Linked DNA regions of Homo sapiens: regions 2, 3 and 4 are each linked to region 1. The links are contacts of gene promoters, found by promoter capture Hi-C in human tissues and cell types (Jung and others, 2019). All regions are on one chromosome and are shown on one strand. The core of a region is centred on a gene start or on the middle of the fragment in contact, and the rest is flanking DNA. Distances in the headings are between cores, read along the strand shown. Region 1 holds the start of EFCC1 (EF-hand and coiled-coil domain containing 1). Region 2 overlaps COPG1 (coat protein complex I subunit gamma 1). Region 3 overlaps HMCES (5-hydroxymethylcytosine binding, ES cell specific). Region 4 has its middle 26 kb from the start of RPN1.

Region 1 (2,700 bases), core at 136-2,635:
GAAGGAGAGAGAAAGATGCTTGTTGAAAGGGAATATGTGAGACTACCCAGACAGGTGCAATTCCTAGGTTAAAGGGGCAAGACGCGATGATGTGGCGGTGGAGCAGAAAAGTGGGGTATGGTTGTTTGAGTGTGATTGGGGTTTTCAGGAATGGAATAGGTGGTAAGAATAGGGTTGGGGACTGGAGTGGAATGGGGAGGAACAGGGGCAAGATGCAAGTGTGCTGATGCGGAGTGGGATGGTGTGGGGCTGCCCTCTGTCTCCCCTTCCTCTGACTCTGTCCTGTCGGGCTCCGCAGCCAGCCAGCTTTTAGTTCGAGCCCTCTCCCGGGCGTTACCACCCTCCCTTCGTGGCCGGCGCGCACCTGCAGTGCTAGGCAGCGCGCATCACTGCTCTGCAGCGCGGCGCGCAGGTCCTCCACCAACTCGCGCAAGCTGCTATTCTCCTCCTCCAGCCGCGCAACGCGCTCACAGTCAGGACCGCTGTCGGGGCCAGGCGCGCAGGGCGGGCGGCGGCGGCGGCGCGGACGGCGCAGGCGGATCTGCGTCTCGATGTGCTCGCTGAGAGCGCCGCGGGGCAGCCGGGGCCCCGCACGGGTGCCGAAGTAGCCACAGAGGCGCGCGTGGAACTGGCGGAAGGTGAGCTCCGGCGGCTCGGCGCGCAGCGCCAGGCGCGCCTCTTCATCGGTATCTGAGTCCCCGTCCGTGGCCAACTCAGCGGCCGCATCCCCGGGGGTCACATCTCTGGAGTTCCCGTCACCTGCTGCCTGCCCGGCCGTGGTGGCCCCCTCCGCGCGCAGCCCCAGCACAGCGCAGAGCGCTCGGAAGTCGGCGCGGGGCAGACGGCCGGCGCCGCGGCAGTCCAGGTGGTGGAAGACCTCCTGCAGGTACTGGTCCAGGCCGGTGGCCAGCACCACGATCTCGTTCTCCACGCCGCGGTCCAGCCCGTAGTGGTGCGCCAGGGCGCTCAGCAGCCACTGCGTGCGCCGCGCAGGTCGCCGGTACGGGTCACCTCCCGCGCCCTCCATGCCGGCCTCCGCGCCCGTGCTGACCGGCTCCATCGCTGCGCCGCGCGCCTCGCTCCTCCGGTCCCTCCTCCGGTCCCTTCGCCCCGCCACTTCCAGGGGCGGCCCCAGAGTTTCTCGAAAGGAGGGGCTTAGCGGTCGCGGTCTGGTTGGAGCGGCGCCGGGGACCGTGTCCAGCAGCTGCGCTGGCCTCACAGTGCGTCTGGTTTACCCCAGTTGCTTTGGAGGGGCCTGGGGTAGGGGGTCCAGGAACCCCCGGGACCCCGGCAGCGCCACCAGTGCCCGGTCGGCGTCTGGGTCTGGCTTCTCCGCGTGACTCCCACGCTCTCCTCTCCTCACTCACGGGGCGTTCCTGGCGTCTGCGCTTTTCCTCCCACTCCCGGCCGTCCACTCTCAACTCCCTCCTCCCTCCGCCCCGCCCGCCTGGCGCGGAGAGTTCGCTCCGAGACCTGGGCGAGGGGTTGGCGCGGGATCCGAAGCCCAGGAGGGCCTTGGGGGTGGCGGCCTCGTCCGGTTGCTGGGGATGTGCCCCCACACCCAAGCGTCACTCTTCCCCCTCTTCCCGGAAGGCCTTTCGAGGGTTGCCTGGCAAGCCTGCTCTCGCCGCCCTGTAGCCGTAGGTGCGGAAAAGCCTCCCCTCCGCTTCAATTCAGCTACTGGGTTTCCGAACCCACTTCTTGTGCCACCATAGACCGTGCAAAGAGCCCCAAGTAGTAACTGGGAAAGAGAGGGAAACAGGCTTGGAGAGGCAAGGGGTCTAGGTTAGGGGCACCCCGCTGGTGAGAAGCCCATCTGAGACGAGCCCTGTGCTAACTGCTCTCTCCCGATCCCTGTTGGGGGTGGGGATAGGACTCTCGGGAAAGTGGTGTCTCCCGGCCCTGCCACCTTTGTGCCTGCCGGTGCTGACTTGGCAATGGGATCCGAGTTCCATCTCTTGAGCTGGGGTTAGGTTAACAGGTCGATGATTGGCTGATGTTTTTTTCTGGTGTTTTAGAACACATTTCTGGAAGATGAAGAAAAACCTGCTTCTCTGGTGAGTGCTAGACTGTGTTCCCTTTCTTTTTCACGAGAGGGGTGCAGTGATATTGTGATATTGTCCACCTGTTACCTGCACCGGGAACGGTTATCCAGCCACGGTACCCAGCCATGTTGGAGCAAGAGGCAGACTCTTCAGCTGTTCCTAGCTATGACAGAGACAGAATCTTGCCTTGTGGATAACTCTGTGAGTTTAAATGTAAAATCTTGCCGTTTGAAAAGCGATAGCATTCTGTCTCCTCTGCCACAGTATCCCAGAATCAGCACGTTGTCCATTTGGCAAATTCGTACTTGTTCTTGAAGGCTTTGCCCAGAGTACATATCTGCTGGGAAGGAGTTAGAGGCTTCTCCCCAAGCATTTTGGACATATTCTTTTAGGTTTGTTTTTAATTATAAAAGTAATGGCAATTTGACAAAGTTTTTACATCACGTCCACTTCTTGGCTTCTACCTTCGAAAGCCACTGTGCACAGGATGTTCACTGCATCATTGTTTATTACAGTGAGAAACTGGAGACAACCTGGTGTCCATCAAATCAGCTAGGACTCAGCAAACGAGGATGAGCGGACACAGCAAGCCACAAGCTGATTATGCACAACACTGATGCTTACATAACAAGAACAAAAACACACAAAACAATAC
Region 2 (2,700 bases), core at 31-2,530, 260 kb before region 1:
CTTTGGGAGGCCGAGGCGGGCGGATCATGAGGTCAGGAGTTCGAGAACAGCCTGGCCAATATGGTGAAACCCCATCTCAACTAAAAATACAAAAATTAGCCAGGCGTGGTGGTGGGCGCCTGTAGTCCCAGCTACTCGGGAGGCTCAGGCAGGAGAATCGCTTGAACCTGGGAGGCAGAGGTTGCAGTGAGCTGAGATCGCACCACTGCACTCCAGCCTGGGCGACATAGTGAGACTCCGTCTCAAAAAGCAAAAACAAAAAACAGCAAACGGCAAACAACAAACATGTTGCCTTCTAAGCAATTTGTCTAGATCACACATTTTCTGGCTATATAACCCTATGTAATAGGCATGATCTATCATCCACATCTGAGAAAAGAAAAGGAAGGCATGGAGAGGATGGGCGGCCTTGCCAGGCTTGCCCAGTTGGTAAGGGGCAGAGCCAGGGCTCTAACCCAGGCTGCCCTGCTCCAGTGCTGGAGCTGGAGGCTCAGAACGACCCTCTATACTGTTCTCTCCTTCACCTGGAAAAGTGCAGCCCCACTTCACATGCACCAGTTTCACAGATCCTGGGTTCCTCCACCAGGCCTCCTCCTGTGGCCAGCCAACCTGACAGGCTCCAGAGTGGACCCGAGCCTTACCTCAGCCTCTTCAGCAGTCAGATGGAACTAACAGCAGCCCACCACCAAAACGTGATACAAGTGGGGACTCAGCATAGTGTCTGGGGCAGGTGCTTCCTAGGTACAGACTCCTTAACACTTGTTAAGAGCATTTTCTTTCTTTCTCCTAGCCCGGGAACCCAGGCCTAGTTCCCAGCAAGCATAAACATGTGAGGCTGGGTGAAGGAATGCCCAGTGACCTGACACAGCCGGGGCCAGCTCTTTGGCACTGCAGCCTGGCAGATTGACGATGGCCGAGGCGGCTTCATACACCACCATCTCGTGCTTGTTGCGCAAGCAGCTCTCGATGAAGTCAAACAGTGGGCTGTCACGGCTACAAAAGAACATAGGGTGGCAAGAAAACGTTGGGGGTGGCCCAGCATGGTAGGATGAGTGAGGCATCATCTAGCTGGTGAGAGATGAGAGCCGTTACCTGCCATCCTCCTCTTCCAGCTGCTTGCTGGCCACCCGGATCATCATGCAGTAGGCAAAGGGAGACTTAAGGCCATGCCGTGTGACCTTGCTGATCATCTTATTGACGGCTAGGCGGTCATTCTTACGCACATGGTACAGGAGCCCTAGTGCGTGGTACTATAGGACAGGAGACAGCAACAGAGTACAAATGTATGACTTTTGGGTATACTGGCTGTGTGGCCCTGGGTGGGTCCTTCAGCCTTCTCATTTCTAAGATGGGCACAGTAGCAGCTACCACACAGAGTGGCTGTGACAACTGCCCCAGGTACTCTGTGTACACAGCCCTCCACACAATGCTTCACAAACCACAGAAGTATATCTGTGGTTCTTGTTCCCACCCCTGCTTCGGCAAGAGCCCTAACAGGTAGCATAAATACAGATATGGAAAGGGACAACAAACAGCACAAAGATGAAAGCAATGTGGGAGACCTGGTGCTTTCAATCAGACAATGAGAGAGAGAAGGTGGGAGCCAGACCCTGAGCATTGTCATGTTTTGTAAGTCACTGTGTGGGACACCTTAGCCATGAAATCTTGCATTACCCACAACAACCCTGAAGGTAGACAGTTTAATCTTTGCTGACTTGCCCAAAGACTCCTGGCTGGTACTGACAAAGCTAGGCCTGGAGGGCCAGAAGCCCAGAGACTCCCTTTCTAAAGATGTGAGGTCTCATAGTTATTTCCTGTCCTCGATACTCTCTTTTGTTTCCTAAAGGAGCGACATTTGGGGGCAAAGATATGGCAGCTGTGGAAGCCTTCTATGTGGGAAGCTTATCTGGCCCTCATAAGTGTTTTGAGGGGCCACAGCTGGCCCTGAAGACAAGAATCGTGCAAAGGATGAGAAGACAGATGAGAGATAAAGGGAATACATAAACACACAGGGAGCGCCGATAGGCACTCATGACCCAGATGGGTCACATGTTACATGCATGATCTCAGCTCGTCCTTGCTGCTTTGTGAGGCAGTAACCTTCATTCGTATTTTACAGACAAGGAAACCAAGAGCCAGAGAGATAAAAGGAACGGCTGTCCTAGGTCACTGAGGAAGAGTAAAGTGGATGAAAGCCTCATCAAGATAATTCCACACATCATAACAAAGCCAGGCTGGCAAAGGCCTAAATTTAGGCGGCCCTCTGCCTGCCTTGGCCAAGTTTGCCACATCATATGCTCCAAAACAATACTCAGCTGGTTATCAAAATACTTGAATATTTCAGCACCAGCTGGTAAGCAGTCTGTAACCCAAGCGCCCCAAGTGGTACCCTGGATTCTCTAACCCAGGACCTCCTAATTCCTCCCATGATCCAATGACGAAAGGATTAAAGCCTGCTATGGCCAGGGGTCACAAGGATCTCGGTGGCAAGTGTCCATGCCAACTGGCCAGTGCCTTACCACCTGCCTGAGTGTTTTAAATATCACTCCCTTGCTCACATCTCACCTGGACCATGATGTTATCACTGGATGCTGCCTCCTGAGCCTCATTCACCCAGCGCTTGACCACGTCAAAGCTGCACTTCAGCAGGTGCTGTGGGCAACAGGACACATTAAGGGGCAGGTAGGAAGTGTCCCCATC
Region 3 (2,700 bases), core at 169-2,668, 300 kb before region 1:
GCAGTGATACAGAAGTTAATTGGAGGAGAAGGCTATACATTGAATCAAATATTCAATTTTAATTAAATAGCATCTATTACAAATGCATGCCTCAAAGGAAATACGTTCATAGGAGGAAAACTGTGCCCCAGGATTTAAGACTGCAAAAGATAAAAAATTTTACATAACCTTCCTTCCACAACTTCACAATAACTCATGAGATGCATTTCTTCCAACACTCACTTCCACAAGCAACAAGCAAACTTCAGGTCTTGTCGAGGTAAAGTGCCATATTTATTGTAGTATGTATGTATGTATGTATTTATTGAGATGGAATCTCACTCTGTCACCCAGGCTGGGGTGCAGTGGCACGATCTTGGCTCACTGCAAGCTCCACCTCCCGGGGTCACACCATTCTCTTGCCTCAGCCTCCCATGTAGCTGGGACTACAGGAGCCCGCCACCATGCCCGGCTAATTTAGTTGTTGTATTTTTAGTAGAGACGGGGTTTCACCGTGTTAGCCAGGATGGTCTCGATCTCCTGACCTCGTGATCCACCCACCTCAGCATCCCAAAGTGCTGGGATTACAGGCGTGAGCCACCGTGCTCAGCCTGTAGTATTTATTTATTTCTTAACCACCTAACATGTATAAAACAGTGCTACTGTTTTATTAGGTTTCCATTATTTTTTTAATGTGTCACTGACAACATTTTAAGTGTTGTCTCCTTAACCCCACTTTTCCCCTAAGTTATTTGGTTTTTATTCTATCGTTTTGCATAGTACAGTGATTTTTAGGAATGTATGTCATGTTAGAGTCAAACTGATTGTAACTTTACGTTGTAAAATGACTTGGTTTCCTACTCTCTAAAGCTACCTAAAAGCAGAGGACAAATCATCTTTTGGATCCTTTTGGATCCAGGGCTAAGAAGTATGACTTGCCTGTGGTGGATGTCACTCAAGCCTTTGCAGGAATCCACTGTGATGATGGTATAGGAATACAGGACATCTCCTCCCTCTGGGGGCTCCCAGCAGTCAAAGATCCCGGCCATTGTCAGCAGCCTCCAGTTGTCCCAGACTTTCTCCCAGTTCTCAGGACTATCTGCAGCACCAATGCTACCTGACTGGAAGCAAAATATATGGGCAGATTAGATGCACTCAGCAGACTTCTTCTACATGCAGGTTAGGTACTACTTCAGACTCGAGAGCACGGAAATCATTTTAAAAGTAATTCAGCCCACGTCTTATTAACCCCTCTGTCACCAAAGGAAAGAAGGTTGGTGGCAAATGCCAACTGAAGCTATAGATTCATGGCTCCTTAATACTTTCAGAATTTAACACCTTCACTGGACATTTAGGCCTTCCGTGAACTGGCCCACCATTCTAGCTATTACTTACATTGTTAATTTGAACCCAAACCAGCTGTTGGTAAATGAAGCTCTCATGCAATTTCATGCTCCTGTGTCTTGCTGAAGCAACCTTCCTCTGCCCAAAATGTCCTTCCCACCCTTTCTTAATTGAATTGAATTTCATGCCAATTCCTAATTGCCATTCAAAATTCAATTCAAGGACTAAAATGTAGAAAGCTGGAAAGAACGTCACTTCTATTCTAACAATAAGAAAAAAGCTGGATAATATGCAAAATTATAACTTTTCTTAAACTCATCAGAGAGGTAAGTCGATCAATTTCCCTGAAATTTAAGAAAAGACAAGGTCCTCCAAGGGGCAATGGGACACAAGTACTGGCTTATTGGCAGCATCAGGAGGGAGACACAAGCCTTCATACAACCAGGTTAAGAATTCAGATAATGTTATTATCACATTTCTACAAGCAGCGTACAGGCTAGCAGGATAGTACAGAATCCCTAGGAGCTGCAAACCTCAGAGGAGTTTGCACCAGCTCACAGGCTTTTCTCCTTGGACTTTGCCAGTGCTCGAAAAAGACGGCACAGGGCAGGAGCCTGGAGGAAGCCATCCTCACTGTTGAATACCTTAAAGGCAAGCTCCTCTGCCTCACCTAATCACTTTTCCCCTAAGGAGCAAAAGTCTTAAGCTGCCAGGGAAACGGTAATAATAATAATCCCTGTCACGCCTAGGAATCAGGTAAAGACCCACAGAGGCTGGGGAAGGAGAAAAAGAAAAAGCCCCCTACGCCCTGGGGAAGACTGAGTCAGAGAGCCACATCTGCTTAAGATAGACTGAACGGAGAACTGCCTCCACCCGTTTAGCCGACAAACATTAAGTGACAAGCAGAAGCAGTCTACTTCTGGAAGAGGGAAAAGGGCACAAGAAAGACCATGTCTAAGGCACAGGCTCACAGGAAAATCCAACAACTGAAGAGAGGAGGGCTGCTGAGAAACCCTCTGGAAAGTCAATCCTTACCCTAAACACTGGATAACACCAGAGCACTTGAAAGCCTGTGTCAAACAAAGGCACTGTAGCCTGGTCGTGGTGGCTCATGCCTGTCATCCCAGCACTTTGGGAGGCCGAGGCAGGCGGATCACGAGGTCAGGAGATCGAGACCATCCTGGCTAACACGGTGAAACCCCGTCTCTACTAAAAATACAAAAAATTAGCTGGGCCTGGTGACGGGCGCCTGTAGTCCCAGCTACTCGGGAGGCTGAGGCGGAGCTTGCAGTGAGCCGAGATCGCACCACTGCACTCCAGCCTGGGCAACAGAGGGAGACTCTGTCTCAAAAACAAAAACAAAAACAAAACAAAGGC
Region 4 (2,700 bases), core at 25-2,524, 320 kb after region 1:
AGTTGAGGGCTGTTTGAATGGCAAAAGCATGGAAGCAAACTAATTGTTCATAAATAGGGGACTGGCTTGATTTTTGAAAAATGACACATCAAGCCTGAGCAACATGGTGAAACGCTGTCTCTACAAAAAATACAAAAATGAGCTGGGCGTGGTGGCAGGCACCTGTAGTCCCAGCTACTCAGGAGGCTGAGGCAGGAGGATCACTTGAGCTGCAGAGGCAGAGGTTGCAGTGAGTGGAGATCGCACTACTGCACTCCAACCTGGGTGACAGAGTGACACCACATCTCAAAAAAAAAAAAAAGACACATTTGTTTAACAGGAATTCTATGCAGCCCCTCCTACAAAATAAAGTAGTACTGTTGTAGAATAAGCTCCAAGATTTATCACATATAATTATAATTATGACTGTGGCTGCAAATAACAATGTAGCCTTCTATAGTGCAAATAACAATGCAAATTACATTGCAAATAACAATGTAGCCTTCTATAGTGGCTTAAACAGACAAGGGTTAATCTGTCTCAAGCAATAAGTAGCAATAAGGGCAGGCACATCTGAGTCTTGTATGGGGCATTGGTGTGTTGTCAGGAATGCAGACTCTTTTTCTTTTTAAAATTTCAAAAGCCTTAAGAAGGTCACAGTGGCACATGCCTGTAGTCCCAGCTACTCAGAAGGCTGAGGCAGGAGGATCGCTTGAGCCCAGGAGTTCCAGGCTGTAATGAGCCATGATCATGCCTGTGAATAGCCACTGCACTCCAGCCTGGGCAACATAGCAAGACCTCATTTCTAAAACAACTTTTTTTAAAATTTAAAAACTTTTTGCCTCATTTCACCAGATCCCTGGCTTGGGGAGCCTTCCTTCCCCATGGTGGGACACCTGGCTTTGGATTTCACCTTCTTGCCCCTTCCAGGTGGTGGAGGTAATGGGTCAGCGGGGCGGGAGCTGGACTTGGCTAAGCTTCCAAGGCAGGAATTGGGCCGGGTGTTGGGCCAGGCTCTGAGATGTGGGGGTTTCTCCCGTGCCCCCCACTGCATGAGTTCCGTGGGCAGATGGTATACTCTGGGTCTCCGGTTGCAGTGGGGCTAGTGCCCCAAGGTGGCTTGAAGACCTCTCAGCCTGAGGGCGAGGCAGGAGCCTGGGTGGAGAGCAACTGTGAGGGGCCTCCCTGGAGCCTTGCACTGCCCCAGCTGGTGCCATGAAGCTAGAGAAGGAGAAGCTGGAGCAAAACCTCAACGAGTCCCAGGACATCAAAGCTCTGTAATTTGCCAAGCTCCTGAAGCAGAAGAGGATCACCCTGGGATATATCCAGGCCCGTGTGGGGCTCACCCTGGGGGCTCTTTTTTTAAATGTTTATTTATTTGTTTATTTATTTTTGAGACAGGGTCTCACTCTGTTGCCCAGGCTGGAGTGCAGTGGCGTGACCTTCGCTCACCACAACCTCTTGTTGTGCCCAGGGGTGTTAGAGAGAACGCCACACTTTGAGACGATTTAAGAGTCCTTTATTAAGCCGGCGGCCAAAGAGACGGCTAACGCTCAAAATTCTCTTGGCCCCGAGGAAGGGGGTTGATTAACTTTTATACCTAGGTTTAGGAAGGGGAGGGGAACTCAAATGCAATAATTCTACAGAAGTAAAAACATGCAAGAATAAAAAAAAAATGGTTACAAAGAGATAAACAATTTAAAAGACAAATGGTTACAAGAAGAGCAACGGTACCAGGTGCAAGGCTTTAAACCTTTATTATAATTAGATATAGGGGGTATGCCGGACAGGAACTCAAGGCTTTATGTTGTTATCTCTTTGAGAAAAATCCTGGGAACTTCATACATTGTTGGTGCTAGTACCTTATCAGTTAATTGGGCTACTTTGAAATGCTGAGGATCTGCTTACACAGGTTAACTCCTTGCGGAAGGGGGTTGGGTAAGGAGCCCTTAGTATCTTGTAAATTAAGGGGTCAATTGGAGTTTGTCTGGCTTTCCCAGCTAGAGAGAGTCTTATTTACATGAGAAGCAAGGCTAGGTGATTAAAGAGACAAGCAGGATAAAATTCAAAGTAACGAGTTAGAGTAAAAACAAGGTTAGGCGTTTCACTCTGCCTCCTGGGTTCAAGCGATTCTCGTGCCTCAGCCTCCCAAGTAGCTGGGATTACATGCATGTGCCACTATGCCCAGCTAATTTTTGTATTTTTAGTAGAGACGGGGTTTCTCCATGTTACAGGCCAGGCTGGTCTTGAACTTCTGACTTCCCACCTTGGCCTCCCAAAGTGCTAGGATTACAGAAGTGAGTCACCATGCCCAGCCTCTGGGGGGTTCTATTTGGGAAGGTGTTCAGCCAAATGACCATCAGCTGCTTTGAGGCTCTGCAGCTCAGTTTCAAGAACATGTGTAAGCTGCCTCCCTTGCTGCAGAAGTGGGTGGAGGAAGCAGCCAACAATGAAGAGCTTCAGGAGATATGCAAAGCAGAGACCCTCAGGCAGGCCGAAAGAACAAGAACCCGGGCCAGTCGCGGTGGCTCACACCTGTAATCCCAGCACTTTGGGAGGCCGAGGCGGGAGGATCACGAAGTCAGGAGATCGAGACCATCCTGGCTGACAAAGTGAAACCCTGTCTCTACTAAAAATACAAAAAAAAATTAGCCGGGTGTGGTCACGGGCACCTGTAGTCCCAGCTACTCAGGAGGCTGAGGCGGGAGAATTGCCTGAACC

The links. The method cuts DNA at HindIII sites, captures the fragments that hold promoters and counts their contacts. A contact is called where the count stands out against the background at its distance.
Region 2: a contact is called between a fragment that was not itself captured here and the fragment with the promoter of EFCC1 in region 1, in 1 of the 25 tissues and cell types used here (bladder).
Region 3: a fragment that was not itself captured here is called in contact with the fragment with the promoter of EFCC1 in region 1 in 2 of the 25 tissues and cell types used here (bladder and small bowel).
Region 4: a contact is called between a fragment that was not itself captured here and the fragment with the promoter of EFCC1 in region 1, in 1 of the 25 tissues and cell types used here (aorta).

The regions. Positions count from the first base shown.
Region 1 is chr3:128,999,989-129,002,688 of GRCh38, reverse strand. EFCC1 (EF-hand and coiled-coil domain containing 1) reads right to left here and starts at 1,385. Exons shown (of 8, transcript NM_001377500.1): 1 at 365-1,385. The coding sequence starts at 1,060. It also overlaps a transcript of CFAP92 not described here. The HindIII fragment of the contact is 14,506 bases long and covers 1-2,700 here.
Region 2 is chr3:129,256,020-129,258,719 of GRCh38, reverse strand. COPG1 (coat protein complex I subunit gamma 1) reads right to left here. Exons shown (of 24, transcript NM_016128.4): 8 at 2,566-2,652; 9 at 1,093-1,250; 10 at 860-993. Among named protein-coding and RNA genes, the nearest start is that of COPG1, 7.8 kb to the right of the region's middle. The HindIII fragment of the contact is 5,686 bases long and covers 1-2,700 here.
Region 3 is chr3:129,296,754-129,299,453 of GRCh38, reverse strand. HMCES (5-hydroxymethylcytosine binding, ES cell specific) reads right to left here. Exons shown (of 7, transcript NM_020187.3): 5 at 919-1,100. Among named protein-coding and RNA genes, the nearest start is that of H1-10-AS1, 18 kb to the left of the region's middle. The HindIII fragment of the contact is 3,505 bases long and covers 1-2,700 here.
Region 4 is chr3:128,675,169-128,677,868 of GRCh38, reverse strand. It overlaps the pseudogene POU5F1P6. Among named protein-coding and RNA genes, the nearest start is that of RPN1, 26 kb to the right of the region's middle. RefSeq lists an enhancer at 2,464-2,533. The HindIII fragment of the contact is 6,212 bases long and covers 1-2,700 here.